Regions from separate parts of the Homo sapiens genome. Here region 2 is linked to region 1. The links are contacts of gene promoters, found by promoter capture Hi-C in human tissues and cell types (Jung and others, 2019). All regions are on one chromosome and are shown on one strand. The core of a region is centred on a gene start or on the middle of the fragment in contact, and the rest is flanking DNA. Distances in the headings are between cores, read along the strand shown.

Region 1 (7,664 bases), core at 1,986-4,485:
AGGCTGATTTGATACAGGGTCCCCCTAATCAACCTTCCACAAACATTTGTGGAATGAATGAAGGGTCCATGGGGAAAGGGGGCCAAGGATATCAGCAAAGGTTTCCTAGAAGAGGCCATCTGATTACAGTGTGAATGCTTGCAGTGTTAGCCCTTAAACCACTCTCTCTGAGTGCCTGCCAAGGGCATGGCACTGCGTAGACTCCTGGGGATACCAGTTGGATATGAGGTTGTCCCACCTGCTCAGATCTTACAAATAAACTTCTCAAGGACAAATAGTTGGTGATAGGGTAGGAATCCTGAGACGTGGATGATCACTTTCAGATATATATTCTACTGACAGACTCAAGCACAAAGCTGCAATCCCTTATAGCTCTGTTTGCAATAGAAAAAGATTGAAAACCATCTAAAAGTTAGGGAACTAATTAAATCATTCTTGCACCATTTATCTGCCCAATGAAATGCTATGAAATCATTAGAAAGAATAAGGAAACTATAGCTGATGTGCTATAGCATTCCACATATGCTGATGTGGAATGATTAGATATCCTTAAATTAAAACAAAACAGGGCCAGGTGTGGTGGCTTACGGCTGTAATCTCAGCACTTTGGGAGGCCGAGGTGGGAGGAACACTTGAGCCTAGGAGTTGGAGACCAGCCTGGGCAACACGGCAAAACCCTGTCTCTACCAAAAATACAAAAATTAGCTGGGCATGGTGGTGCACTCCTGTAGTCTCAGCTACTTGGAAGGCTAAGGTGGAGCATTGCTGAGTCCAGGAGGTGGAGGTTGCAGTGAGCTGAGATTGTGTCACTGCACTCCAGCCTGGGCAACAGAGCAAGACCCTCTCTCAAAAAAAAGAAAAGAAAAATCAGGAGTTATGATAATCATATATGAATATGAGAACAACTTCAATTTCTTATCAAGATTCTGGTTTCTGAGAGCTACATCCAGTGTCCACCCTTTCCTTGGGAAGCTGCAGGTCCATCGTCCTACCCAGCCTCGAGTATGCCCCAATCTGCATGCCCCACGCTGCATCTTCTTTTCTCTAGCCTCTCTGTCTTTGGGCACAGAGTTGCTCAATCAACCTTTGATGAATGAAGAATGAATGGGGGTAACTCAGGCAGGATTTGACTGGGCCCTTTGTAAGATCGAGCAGGAGGGTCCAGGAAATAATTATTATTATGTTTCCAATACAACCGGCCCGGTGTTTTCCTGCAAGAAAAAGTACATCTCTGGGGTAAGCACCTTCACCTTCTCTCTTCCCTTACCTACTCTCCACTTCTCTGGGACAATTAGTCAACACTGGGAGCTCCAGGGTCTTGGCCCTTCCCCCTTTGGTCCAAAATAACCTCCTCCCCCACTTTGAGCAAATGCTTGGAATTCTTTCAACTGGAGGACAAAGCCTTTCATCTGCCAATTACTGATAAAGAGAAAATGCAAATATCGAGGGGGAAGGTGATTCATCAAGGGCCCAACATTTATTGAGTGGCCACTTAGGACCCGGCAGCAGGGCAGGCATTCTGGGGGAGGCCAAGGGGAACAAACCCCCGGCTGGCCCATTCTTTTCTCGTGTTTGCGGTTTCCTCGAGGTTTGTAAAGGGGGGGGATTAAATGAGGTGACTACCCAGCCCCTTCCCACTCTGACAGGCCAGGAACTCCTCGTGGAGGTGATAGATGGACTTAACTGTTTTTATACTAAGGTGGCTGCCATTGGACCTTTTTCTGATGCCAGCTTTTGGGGCCACTATGAGGCCACTTGGAGAGAAAGAAGGGCCTCAGGGAGAAAAAAGAATTAATTAGATGAAGCATTCTATTATATATTTTTTGCTTTATTTCACTTAATTCACTTTGCGTCACTCTCCAGCCCATGCAGCCTCCTTTGAACATGTTTATTTCATTATGGGGCAGTAGTGAGGCTGGTAAGTTACTAAAAAAAAAAAAAAAAAAAAAAAAAGCACGTGATGGCCAAGCCAGGCTCCAGTGTGAGCCCTGGCAGCGGCACATACGCGCTATGTGATCCTGGGTGAGTGGCTTTGCTTTTCTTAGTCCTAATTTCCTCCTTTGCAAAATGGGAACGAACAAGACGATTTCCCTTAAAGGGTTCTTGTGAGAAAGACAGGAACAAATAAAATGGTCCATGGTTCTGGACGGACTGAAGGCAGAACCGGCAGCACTCACACGAAGGGCTACTGATTGCACGCAGCAGCCAACGTGGGCGATTTCAGTTTGGAAACAAATTTTGATGTTTCCCAGCCTCATCCCTGCTTAAAAGATTTTTACAGCTAGTGAACATGAATGAAAACAAACTTCAAAGAGTAGCCTTTGAGGATGGGTGGGAAAGACTACAGTCAGATAGGACAGGAAACTTCTAAGGTGAGTGAGGGGGAAGCTGTCTCTTAGGACGGCCAATACGATGCTGATAGTGACATCGTATCTCCTGGTGGGGAAGCCACGTCCTCCCCACAGGTCTGTCTGATAGCCTGGGGACCATATGGGAGCACAGCAATCATTCAGATTCATAATTTCTCTGAGCTTCAGTTTCCCTATCTGCAAAATGACCTGCTCCAAGTATCCCACAGGGTTATGGCAGAAATAAAATGTCAGGCTCAAAGCCTGCTATCTACAATGTCCCTTTATCGTCTCCCTCTTGCCATGTCATTTTATCAGCATCTTTACCCGCAAGATCAGGCCTAGCAGGGCGCCACAGCTGGGGCTGGAGGAATGTTTAGGGCTAGCTTTTCTCAAGCCAAGTCGACCTGACTGTTGCTCATGATGGGAGGACAAGACAACCCAGGACCAGTGCTGGGGTAGTCAAAAACACTAGTAAGTGGACAGGGACCTAATGACACCCATGTATGTACGGAGGGTGCCGATACCTCCGCTAAGAAGCCCTGTAGGGGCTTCATCAAGGGCACTAGAGTTCCCCCCACCTATCCCAGAGCACCATGCACCTTTCCACCGACTTGTCTTCTATAAACTACCAACAAGGGCTTACCCTTCGCTCCTGTGCGGGCTGCGTTAGGAGGCGCCAGATCCAATTCTCTGCGTCTTTCGCTCCTGAGCATCTATCTGCTCCCCTTGCCGAGCGCAAGAACCTTTAAAAAATGTCCAACTTCTGTTTCAGGGCTGGTCGCCTAGTAAAGGAGTCCACAGAGGCGGGCAGAATGAATGAATGAAAGGCAACGTCTTCCGGTCAGCTGCGGACTGCAAAGGCTCTGGTCTGGCTGTATTTCCTGTACGTGTGTGTGTCCACATCTTTGAGTGCCGGGAGTTTAAAAGTTAGGCAGTCCTTATAGGTATGGAAGCCGAGCTAATTTCCTTCTGAGCCCCCCAAATGCCTCCTCCACATGGCGGGTCCGCAAATGGGGGGATCTGCAGAGGATCACCCCCCACGAAAAAGACATGCAGCAGAAAAGCAAAAAAAGAAAACAGTTATATATACAAAATGCTTTGAATTTGAGTCGGCCACACAGGTAATGTTGGGGGAGGGGTGGATGAAAGAAGAGGAAGAGGGGTAGCCCTGGGCAATGAGGGCAGGAACGGAGGTGGGGGGTCGTTTTTGGGGGTGCCAGGCCCCGGGGGCTTTCACGCCAGCATGCTCGGCTTGCATTTCCGCGCCTCCCGCTGAGGCCAGCCGTGCAAATCTGCACCTCCCTCCCCGCCCCCTCCTCCTTCCCTCCCTCCCTGCCCCGCCATCTCCGGGATGCGCCCGCCGCCTGCAACTCGGCCCTCCAAAAGTCAGCTCTGCACACAACTCCCGGGCGGCGGCGGCGCCTGCGTGCAGAGGCGCACTCGTGACCCAACAACAAAACAGCGATGCCACGGCGCTAACGGCGCCCGGTGCCTCCCGGGCTCCCTCCCCGCCCCATACCTCCTCGGGCCGCCGCCCCCACCCCCCCAAGCCCGGGCCGAGAGCCCCCCCAAATAGCCCGGCCGCGGGCTCCGAGCGCGATCGGCAACAATGTTTACGTTCCGGGGATTATGACGTCGACGCCTCCCCCCCCCCACAACTGCTGAAAATGGTTTCCTAGGACTTTGCAAACGGATCTGCCTAAGTGTTGGTGCAAAACTTTGTAGATCTCGGCTCTGGCTTGCTTTATTTATTTATTTTTTGGTTTGTTTTCTTTGGTCTTCCCTCCTTCCCCCCTCGGCCAAAATGCAGGGGGCAGGAGTGTTGACAATTAATTGGTGAACTCTCCTAAAAAAATGGAGGCAGAGAAAGACTCTGGAAGAAGATTGGTGTGTAGCTTTTTTTTTTTTTTTTTTTTTCCAAATCTGTATCTGGCATATGATAGATCTTTTTTTTTTTTTTTTTGGTTGTTTCTCGCTGCCTTTTCTTTCCTTTTCTGTATTTTGCAAGAGGACCGGGAAAAAAATATAATAAATTGCATGCAAAAGGAAGCAAGCTGCTTACTCCTCCAGCCCCTTGTGAGGCTTAGAGTCTCAGACACTTAAGTGGGGAGGTGGTATCGGGGAAAGGCGTGGAGGGGGGCTGAGCGGGCTCGGGGTTCGCCCGGAATCTGGGGGGCTGAGGGGCCGGGCGCTGGGCGGTGGAGGGAGGAGGCAGGGGGATGCGGGGAGTGGTGGGGGAGTCTCCTTAGGAAGTGAGTGTGCGCGCGCGCTTGTGGGGAGATGAGGCAGCTGCTGGTGCGTTTTGGGGTCTCCGATCCGAGCTTTGTGGCGGGCCGTCTGCCTCTCCCCCTTCCAAGCCCCGATTCTCCTCCCCCCACCTCCTCTTCTTGCACTGGCGGGCGGGCGGCGGGGGCGGCTGGGGTCTCAGCCCTTCCATTTCAGCTTTCCAGCTTCCCCGGTAGCTCGGGGGCGGCTCCAGCTTTAGAAATGCCGCCGGCCCCCGGTTCCGGCTTCCCGGCTCTGCCGCCGCGGCCGCTGGGGCTGCTGTTACCGCCGAGCCGGGCGCCGCAGCGGCTCCTCCTGGGGCCTACATTTGCCCCGCCAGCCCGTGTCCGGAGCCCCCTTCGCGGGTTACATAACCAGGCTCCCGGCCGAGTGGGCGAAGCCCAGCACATTTCGGGGGCGGGGGGCAGGGGAGGGTCCCCAGATGTCCCTTCAGTGCTTCCGAAGACACCGGAGGGGAGTACCCCGCGTAGAGCGCAGCTGGACCCTCGGGGTGCGGGCCCCTCTCCTTGTCCTGCTTTTCAGCATCTTTGGCAATTGCGCAAAGTTGCTTGGGTTGCAATGGTGGGGTGCAGGGGGCGCTCGGCTGCTGCACCTGTTAGTGCTGGGCCCAGGTTGAGAGGCGACCTCCAGCCCCCACAATAATGTCCCGGGCTCTCTGGTTTGGGTCCTCGCAGCGCCCGATTGACCGCCAGCGATACGACGAGAACGAGGACTTGTCGGACGTGGAGGAGATCGTCAGCGTCCGCGGCTTCAGCCTGGAGGAGAAGCTTCGCAGCCAGCTGTACCAGGGGGACTTCGTGCACGCCATGGAGGGCAAAGGTGAGGCGCCCCCACCCCGGGCCGCCCTCTGCGCTGCGGGCCGAGCGCACGTGGGGAGGGAGCTGCCGGTGGCTGGGTTCGTATTTCGCGCCCGCGTCCCCCATTCCAGGGGATCCGGTGACGAAACGAGGCCGAGCACTGGGGGGGTGGGGTGGGGTGGTGAGGGAGGAGGGCAGGCAGTAAGGGGGGCCGGGCATGGGCCTAGGCCCGGCCCGCGCCCACCACCAGCCCCAGGGTGGGCAGAGCCAGGGGGCCGGCGGACAGAGGGACCTGGAGATGGACAGGCGGACCGAGGGAGGGCGGGAGCGCCGCGTCCTCCCCCTCCCCGAGCCGGTCGCGCTCCCTGCGCTGCCTGAGGTGCCGCCGCCTGGCTGGAACTGGGTTCAGGGCGCCCCTGGGGCATCGGGGTAAGGCCCCCCAGGCCCGAAGCCTTCCCAATCCCGTTCCCGCTTGGGGCCTGCCAGTGAGGAACTGGTGATGGGGGCGCGTCGGGTGTTTGGGACGATGCCCCCTTAGGCCTGGGGTCCGCAGAGCCGCATTCCCCCATGGGCTCTGCCAGATTGGATCAGGGACCCCATGAGCCCTGAAGCTGTTGACCTGAACCCCTACCTGGGCCGGAGCTGTCTAGCGCTACAGCCTTGATAGGTTGAAGCCAAGAATTGGGGTCAGGGGGTGACTTCCCTTCAGGCTTCTGGGGGAGATCCCTGTCCCCTGGCAGTTTGAAGTGAGGAAATGGGTCTCCTCCCAGGCCTGAGACTTGGAGAGCTCTGTTCCTTGTGGGCCCACCCAATTGAGAGCGGAATCTGGGGACGCCTCCAGGGTTTTGGAGACCTTCACGGCCTGAGTTTCTCCCTGGCTCTCCTACTAGGAGGGTGGTGGGGGTCACCCTCCAGATGTTAAGGTGACGCCCTGGGTTGCCTCTGAGGCCTCCAGAGCCCTGGCCTTCCCAGCCTGCAGCCAGTGTGGCTCCTGGTTGAGGAACCTAGTATTGCCTGCGGGATTGGGGTTTTGAACATGCCCTACCTAGCCTTCCCAGGCCCTTCACTCCTTTTCCCTTTCAGATATTTCAATTTCCTTTAAGTTACAAAGTTTCTATTTTGTTCCCCCCACGCCCCTTGGAAAACCCTTCCATCCCTCAGTGAGCTGATAACCTGGAGTGCCTCCTTCCCTCCTCCAGGTTCTGGTTGAGTGGCTGTGGCTGTGGGGTTAGCTCTGAGAAGAGACTCCCAGCTTTGCAGTTTTGCGATTTCTCTTTTGTGCCCATTGCCTCCTGGAGCGCTGGGCTCCGGTGGTGAGGGGTGTTTGTTGGGGGAGGGAAGAATAAATTTCTCCCAGCCTGCCTGGTCCTAGAGCAGGGTGCTAGTCCCAGCTGATTTAAATTTTCTCTACATAAGTGGAATTTTAATTCCTCTCCTTTCTTCCCCCATTTTTACTGAGTTGAGTCATTTGGTGGATCCTATGTGCAAACAATATGCAAACTCTTCCTAGTCATTTGGGAGGAATTCTCAGCCCAGGATTTCAGAGCTTTTTCTCAGGCTGATTTGAGGAAGTTGAAGCTGACCCTGGGGGATGGGGTGCCTAGGGTGGGTGGGTCTAGAGGGCCGGTATTCCAGCCAGGGAGAGCTAAAGTGTATCCTTAGATCTGCTCTCCCGGCTTCTTTCAAAGGGGAGGGCCCAGGGCTTTGCTCTTTAATTCAGATCTGGCCCCAAAACTTGAGGGAGGAGCTTAGAAACAGGAGCCCTTAGCCTGGATTCAAAATAGAAGCTTCTTAAACTTCTCTTCCTTTAAATCCTTAGGAATCCCCATTCACTGTGAGCCCCTGGGGATCTGAGCTGCTGAGGTCAGGGCTTTCCCCGGCTTTGGGTTTTGTTCTCTGTCTCTCTTCGGAGGGGAGTTGTCTTGGCCTCCTCCTCCCCCAAGGCTGCCCTGTGAACTGTTTCCCTGGGCTAGCAGCTTCAGTGGCCTGAGGCCTCTTCTTCTCCCTTCTGACGGTCGGAGAGGCCTTCTTACCTTGCGGATTACTTTAGTTACCTGAGGATTTGGGGGACGTGAGAATTTATCTCAAGACCCATCACCTTCATATTCAGGGGTGTATGGTTGGGTCAGATTCACTGGTTTCAGAATTGGGGAAGGAAAGAAATTAGAGGCCTCCTTCATCCTCCAGGACTTTGGGTAAGGATTTGGGGACTGTACTAGAAAAACCCCAG
Region 2 (7,664 bases), core at 3,634-6,133, 56 kb after region 1:
GTGATCCACCCGCCTCGGCCTCCCAAAATGCTGGGATTACAGACATGAGCCACCGCGCCCAGCCCCTAGATGAGTATTTTAGGTCCTCCCCAGGCCTGGGGATTCTCTCCAGCATTCACACCCTCTGAGCCACGTACAGACACACATCTGAGATTCGTGGTACTTGATTTGTGGCTTTGAGGAGAGAGTCTTGGGAAACCCAGAAAGGGTTTGCAGCTCCCTGGATGGGAGTTTTTCTGTATTGAAGCAGAGAATTGAATTCTGGCATTTCCCACCTCTGACCTGAGTTTTCATTGCCACAGTGTGACCTTAGGCACCTCTCCTCCTGCCACACTGACCTCACGCCTCCCAGTCCGTGGTTCATGGAGTCTTCAGTTCTCTGAAAGCTCATAGGATGCTGATGGTTTAGGAAGACTTTCATCATAAAGGGATGCTGGATTTTGTCAAATGCTTTTTCTGTGTCTATTCAGATGATCGTGTGATTTTTTAATTTTTAATTCTGTTTACGTGGTGTATCACATTTATCGACATGTGTATGTTAAACCATCCCTGGCATGAAACCCACTTGATCATGGAGGGATTATCTTGTTGATATGCTGTTGGATTTAGTTACTAGTATTTTGTTGAGGTTTTTTGCATCTATGTTAATCAGGGATATTGGTCTTTAGTTTCCTTTTTGTTATGTCCTTTCCTGGTTTGGGTATTAGGGTGATACTGGCTTCATAGAATGATTCAGAGAGGATTCTCTCTTTCCCTCTCTTTTGGAATAGTGTCAACAGGATTGGTACCAAGTCATCTTTGTTTTGTTTTGTTTTTTTGAGACAGAGTTTCACTCTTGTTACCCAAGCTGGAGTGCAGTGGCACGATCTCAGCTCACTGTAACCTCCGCCTCCCAAGTTCAAGCGATTCTCCAGCCTCAGCCTCCCAAGTAGCTGGGATTACAGGCATGTGCCGCCACGCCTGGCTAATTTTTGTATTTTTAGTAGAGATGGGGTTTCACCATGTTGCCCAGGCTGGTCTCAAACTCCTGACCTCAGGTGATCTGCTTGGCTTGCCAAGTCATCTTTGAATGTCTGATAGAATTCAGCTATGCATCCAAGGAAGACCTTATTTATTTATTTATTTATTTATTTATTATTTTTTCATTTTTTTGAGACAGAGTCTCACCCTGTTGCCTAGGCTGGAGTGCACTGGGCACCATCTCGACTCACTGCAACCTCCACCTCCCAAGTTTAAGCAATTCTCATGCCTCAGCCTCCTGAGTAGCTGGGATTACAAGCGTACGCTACCGGGCCCGGCTAACTTTTGTGTTTTTAGTGGAGACGGGGTTTTTCCATGTTGATCAACCTGGTCTCAAATTCCTGGCCTCAAGTGATCCTGCTGCCTCAGCCTCCCAAAGTGCTGGGATTACAGGCATAAGCCATAGCGCCCGGCTGCCAAGGAAGATTTTAAATGGTGCTATTCTTCAGGCTTTATTCCTAGGTAACCTAGGAGAGCTGCCTGGAAGAGGAAGACCGTTGAAGGTGACTGAGGAGTAGAATGACCTGGAGAAAGGGGTTTGAGCTTGCCCTGCCTAGCTGGCTATACCTTGATGAGGCAGGAGGTGAGAATACAGCGTCAGGGTCAGGACATCAAGGCCACAGTAAACAGTGCCTAGGGGTCACCAGGTGTTAGCCTTATAATTATCAGTAAGGAAAGCTGGAGGTGGAAGTCACCCCCGGGGAATAGGAGGTTGGAAACTTTAAGTACCTGGGGTGAACCAGGTGATGTCTTTTTCCTCCAACTCAACCTGGCCTATGGGAGCATACTGGCCACATTTGCAGGCTCGGCCTCCCCACTCTGGCTGTGCCAGCCTAGGTGAGCTATAGTTAACAGTTATAAGCAATGAACATTTACAAATTTTATTTTATTTTATTGAGTCAGGGTCTTACTTTGTTGCCCAGGCTGGAGTAGCATGGCTTGATCCAGTGAACATTTTATGTACATTATGTATCTTCTCTGCAAGCATTTATGGAAAAATGTAATATTCCCCACTTTTTTTTTTTTTTTTTTTTTTTTGAGACGGAGTCTCCCTCTGTCACCCAGTCTGGAGTGCAGTGGCGCGATCTCAGCTCACTGCAAGCTCTGCTTCCTGGGTTCACGCCATTCTCCTGTTTCAGCCTCCTGAGTAGCTGGGACTACAGGCGCCTGCCACCATGCCCGGCTAACTTTTTTTGTATTTTTAGTAGAGACGGGGTTTCACCGTGTTAGCCAGGATGGTCTCAATCTCCTGATCTGCCCGCCTTGGCCTCCCAAAGTGCTGGGATTACAGGTGTGAGCCACCGTGCCCGGCCTCCCCACCTTTTTTTAAACAATTTTTTTTTAGGCTGGGCACAGTGGCTCACGCCTGTAATCCCAGCACTTTGGGAGGCCAAGGCGGGCAGATCAGGAGATTGAGACCATCCTGGCTAACACGGTGAAACCCCGTCTCTACTAAAAATACAAAAAAAAAAAAATTATCTGGGCGTGGCGGCGGGTGCCTATGTAGTACCAGCTGCTCGGGAGGCTGAGGCCAGAGAATGGTGTGAACCCGGGAGGCAGAGCTTGCAGTGAGCAGAGATCACGTCACTGCACTCCAGCCTGGGCGACAGAGCGAGACTCCGTCTCAAAAAATATAAAAAAGAAATTTATTTAATTTTTCAGACAGAGCGTTGCTCTTGTTGCCAAGGCTGGAGTGCAATGGCATGATCTCGGCTCACTGCAACCTCCGCCTCCTGGGTTCAAGTGATTCTCCTGCCTCAGCCTCCTGAGTAGCTGGGATTACAAGTGTGCACCACCACGCCCAGCTAATTTTTGTAGTTTTAGTAGAGACGTGGTTTTACCATGTTGCCCAGGCTGGTCTTGAACTCCTGACCTCAGGTGATCGGCCCGCCTCGGCCTCCCCAAGTGCTGGGATTACAGGTGTGAGCCACTGTGCCCGGCTAAAAAAATTTTTAAATTTTGTTTTAGAGACATGGTCTTGCTCTTGTGCCCAGACTGGAGTGCAATGTTGTGATCACAGCTCATTGCAGTGTTGCCTTGACCTCCTGGGCTTAAACAATCGTCCTATCACAGCCTCTAGGGTAGCTGGGACTACAGGCATGTGACACCATTTTTTTTTAAACAAATAAAGAAAATACCTAAGGCCCAAGATCTCACAGTGACCAGGTCAGAGCAAGAACCCAGGTGTGCCTACTTTGAAAACACATATTCCTAAATATACCTACTTTGAACTCCAGTAGCTTGGGAGTCAGGAGACTTGGGATCTGGTCCTCCTTCTTGACTCTTGACTATGTGAGAACTATTTGCTCATTTAACAAACTTTCTTTTTTTTTTCCCCTGAGGCAGAGTCTTGCTCTGTCACCCAGGCTGGAGGGCAATGGCACAATATTGGCTCACTGCAACTTTTACCTCCTGGGTTCAAGTGATTCTCCTGCCTCAGCCTCCTGAGTAGCTGGGATTACAGGCGTGTGCCACCACACCCAGCTAATTTTTTCTATTTTTAGTAGAGACGGGGTTTCATCATGTTGGCCAGGCTGGTTTCAAACTCCTGACTTCAAGTGATCCGCCTGCCTTGGCCTCCCAAAGTGCTGGGATTACAGGTGTGAGCTACCAGTCTCGGCTTCATTTAACAAACTTTCTTAAGGGCCCACTTGGTGCCAGATGATGTGGGGGGCCTTGGAGGGGACATAAGACAGATCCCCTCCCTCCTGAGAGCAGCTTATCCAGCCAGGTGGCATCCAGGGTGGCAGAGGCCAGTATGGGGACCTTATTTGTCATATAAGTGGGGATGGCAGTGCCTGGGGAAGACCCAGGGATCTGTGACTTGGGCTGGCCTAAAGTTATTTCCCATCCTTGCATTCTAGAAAGAACCACTGAAGACCCAAATATCATGGTAGCCCCAGGTATTTCTTACACTCCAGCAAGTCTGAGAAGAAATTCCTTAATGGTGTCACGTGGTTGGGCCTCAGACGATCCATCTATCAAATGGGTCTAAAGCAGGGAAGGGGACTGGATGGGTTGGGGCCGTGGGAAACTGGGCAGTACCTGCTCAGCCAGTCCAGCTAGGGCCAGGTGGGAATCCAGACCTTCCTATTTTTCTAGGTGGAAGGCAGCATTTCAGATTGTCACATGGAATGTACTGGCGTGGCACGGTGGCTCACGCCTGTAATCCCAGCACTTAGCACTTTGGGAGGCTGAGGTGGGCGGATCACCTGAGGCTGGGAGTTAGAGACCGGCTTGGCCAACATGGTAAAACCTCATCTCTAGTAAAAATTTGTGTGCCTGTGATTCCAGCTACTCAGGAGGCTGAGGCAGGAGAATGGCTTGAACCTGGGAGGTGGAGGTTGCAGTGAGCCGAGATGGCACCACTGCACTCCAGCCTGGGTGACACAGTAAGGCTCTGTCTCAAAAAAACAAAAACCCAACAAAACAACAACAAAAGAAATATCCCCATTTTTAAACATGGGGTGGCGTGAAGTAATTGGCCCCTGGTCCCAACTATGAGGTCCTTGAAGGGAGAGTATCCTTACTTCATGTCAGCAGCCACAGGTTCGTTCCTGATCCTGGCCCGGCGCAGGGAGTTCACTGATGTCGGTGAAAGAAGCCAGGGTCCGGTTGGGTTGTGGGCGTCTGTGAGGTGTCCCTTGCCCAGTTCTGAGACCTCTAGGTTTATTCCTGCTAAAGCCACAGAGGTGGAGGCAGATGTGGGTGGGGCCTTTGGATTCCGAGTCCTGAGCAGACGCTCAGGTTGTGGGTGAGCCCCACCTGCCCCTGCTGCCCTTCTTGGGCCCCCTGAGGTCCCAGAGAATGTGCTGCTTTGTGTATCACTGGCTTCCCATCTATGACTGCATCTGTCCCTGGTCGCTTGGCCTGAATAGCCTCTGTTTATTGCCTTCATATTGTCGATGACTCTGGCTGGAAGCAGGAGGCAGATGCCAGCGTTCCCAGCCCAGGCAGCAGCCTGGGAGCACCGGCTCTCATGCTTCCTGGGCTGTCGAGAGGCCATCGGAGGAGGGGTATGGATGGGGCCCACAAACGCTGTTATTTCCACACCTCCTTCTTACTGAGGGAGGCATGTGGGTAATGAAGCAGATGTGAGCAGAGCTGGGGGAGGGACGCAGTGGCGGCTAATCCAGGGGTGGCTGCCTGACCCACCCTTGAGGCCCTGGCTGCGAAGGGGAGTGGGTAAAAGCTTCTAGAATCCCTCGAGTGTCTGGGCGTGCAGATCCCCTGCCCCCTCCTCGCAGCAGCAGCTCTCCTCTGTGTTCCTCTTTCCTCACGTGTCAGGGCAACAGATGTAAGTCAGGTGCGTTGGCCTCTGCACCTGCCAGGAGAACAGGGAGAGTCCAGGGCTGGGAAAGATGGATGCATGTGGGCACCATCCTCTACCAGAGCCCTTGTGATCGACAGAGACAACCACAGATACCAATGCCAATTGCTTATATGGATTCAGGACTTGCTCACCAAGTTCCCCAGAAGGGAGGGGAGTGGAGGGGACAGGATGGAACCCTAGCCCCTGGACTTGGGCTTTCTGCAGGGAGGGAGGTAGGCTTGTGGGGCCATATAAGATGCACCTGCCTGTGCATCACATGACCCGGTGGTCCCGGGTCCCAATCTTAGGAAATGTTGCTAGGATAACGGGGATGGCGACAATAACAGCATTCAATAGCATGGTTCCACTTGGTGGAAACATGGAAATGTTGAGGTCAGCCTGCAGGCAGCAGAGGCAGGAGACTGAAGCGGATGTGGAGACAGAGGCTCTTTCAGGGCGGCAGCCATGCTTCTGTGCAGAGGAGGGTGAAGGTCGTGGGATGGGAAGCTGGGGAGCTCGACGGCCGCTTGCAACCGCACAGAGCAGCTGTCTTTCATGGCTCACGCCAGAGACCCGGGGAGCCAGGCACAGAACGAGGTTGCCTAAAGCAAAGCCCTCGTGCCTGTACCCGGCAGCACTGGGCTTCTGGTGATGAGCTTTCCCTTGCTCTCCCCTGAGGATGGCCAGCTCTGTTCCATGCGTTGCCCTGGTGGGAAGGGACAGCGGCTGAGTGTCCACTGCGGATGCCAGCAGTGGCCCCGCAGTCTGTGCTGTCTTCCAGGCAGGAGCGTTGCTCCCAGCAGTGGTGACCACCCATGACTCAGGGCTGGCGTGTTTCATTGGGGGACAGACTGGAACCGCTCGGGCTTGGGGGGCAGAGGCAGTCGCTGTAATTTTCCTCAGAGCAAAAGAATAAAGTGCATGGCTGGGAGAGGAGGGGACAGCGGCCTCCAGGGCCAGGCCCTTCAAGGTGCAGGGTCTTGGGGCACCGCCACCCTTCCCTCTGCTGCACCATTCCCCCAGCCAACCCTCCTCTGTCCTTCACTGTGAGTTGCTCCGCCTCTGTCCGCCCTTGTCCTTATTTCTCTCTGCGTTTCTCCTTTTGCCTCCCCTCTGTATTTCCCAGCCTTTCCCCCGGGACTTGCAGTCCTGTGCAGAACCTTTGATGCAGCGGCAGCTGTGCAGCGTGCTGGCTAAAAACGGAGCCGCTGTCGCTTGCCAGCTGTGACTCATTCAGCAAGTGGCTTCCCCCTTTGTGCCCTCAGTTTCAGCATCTGTGAATTGGGGTTGATTCTCCTCCTGCCCATCTCCTAGCCCCACGCTGTGTGACCCGGCAGCCAGGAGCCACACACATGTCACCTGAGCACTTGCAGTATGGCCACTGTGAATTGCAGTGCAGTAGCTGTGTGTCCCAGTGAATGAGGGGCTTTCTCCCAGCCTTCATGGACCATGCAGAGCCCGACTTCCCGGGCTCAAAATCCTGATAGGTGACTTCATTTTTCTGTGCCTCACTTTCCTCATCCATAATTTTTGTTGTTGTTTTTGGCTCTGTCTCCCAGGCTGGAGTGCAGTGGTGCGATCTTGGCTCACTGCAACCTCCACCTCCGGGGTTCAAGCAATTCTCATGCCTCCGCCTCCCAAGTAGCTGGGACTACAGGCATGTGCCACCAAGCCTGGCTAATTTTTGTATTTTTAGTGGAGACGGGGTTTCGCCATATTGACCAGGCTGGTCTCAAACTCCTGACTTCAGGTGATCCTCCCGCCTCGGTCTTCCAAAGTGCTGGGATTATAGGCATGAGCCACCGTGCCTGGCCCTCATCTGTAAATTGAGGTTGAATATAGTATATACTTTTTTTTTTTTTTTTGAGACGGAGTTTCACTCTTGTTGCCCAGGCTGGAGTGCAATGGTGCGATCTCGGCTCACTGCAACCTCACCTTCCGGGTTCAAGCGATTCCCCTGCCTCAGCCTCCTGAGTAGCTGGGATTACAGGCATGCACCAACACGCCTGGCTAATTTTGTATTTTTAATAGAGACAGGGTTTCTCCATGTTGGTCAGGCTGGTCTCGAACTCCCGACCTCAGGTGATCCGCCCACCTCGGCCTCCCAAAGTGCTGGGATTACAGGCGTGAGCCACCATGCCCGGCCATGAATATAGTATATACTTTTTCGGGATTTCATGAGAATTAATGAGTTAAGGCCTGAAAAGCCCTTAGACCACTGTGCCTGGCACAAGGTGGGCCCTCTATTATCGTTTCTTCTTTTTTTTTCTTTTTGAGATGGTTATCTCTGTTACCCAGGCTGGAGTGCAGGGGTGTGATCACAGTTCACTGA

Evidence for each region. The method cuts DNA at HindIII sites, captures the fragments that hold promoters and counts their contacts. A contact is called where the count stands out against the background at its distance.
Region 2: a contact is called between a fragment that was not itself captured here and the fragment with the promoter of KDM2B in region 1, in 1 of the 25 tissues and cell types used here (spleen).

The regions. Positions count from the first base shown.
Region 1 is chr12:121,576,594-121,584,257 of GRCh38, reverse strand. KDM2B (lysine demethylase 2B) reads left to right here and starts at 3,235. Exons shown (of 23, transcript NM_032590.5): 1 at 3,235-3,472; 2 at 5,312-5,456. The coding sequence starts at 3,347. It overlaps KDM2B-DT (KDM2B divergent transcript), which reads right to left and starts at 3,747. Exons shown (of 4, transcript NR_183427.1): 1 at 2,995-3,747. RefSeq lists enhancers at 205-1,138, 1,139-2,074, 3,010-3,945, 6,867-7,445, 7,446-7,664 and silencers at 3,515-3,564, 3,645-3,954, 5,114-5,193. The HindIII fragment of the contact is 18,580 bases long and covers 1-6,313 here.
Region 2 is chr12:121,522,048-121,529,711 of GRCh38, reverse strand. All of the region lies in intron 8 of KDM2B (lysine demethylase 2B), which reads left to right. Among named protein-coding and RNA genes, the nearest start is that of KDM2B-DT, 55 kb to the left of the region's middle. RefSeq lists enhancers at 1-214, 6,311-6,500. The HindIII fragment of the contact is 6,227 bases long and covers 1,770-7,664 here.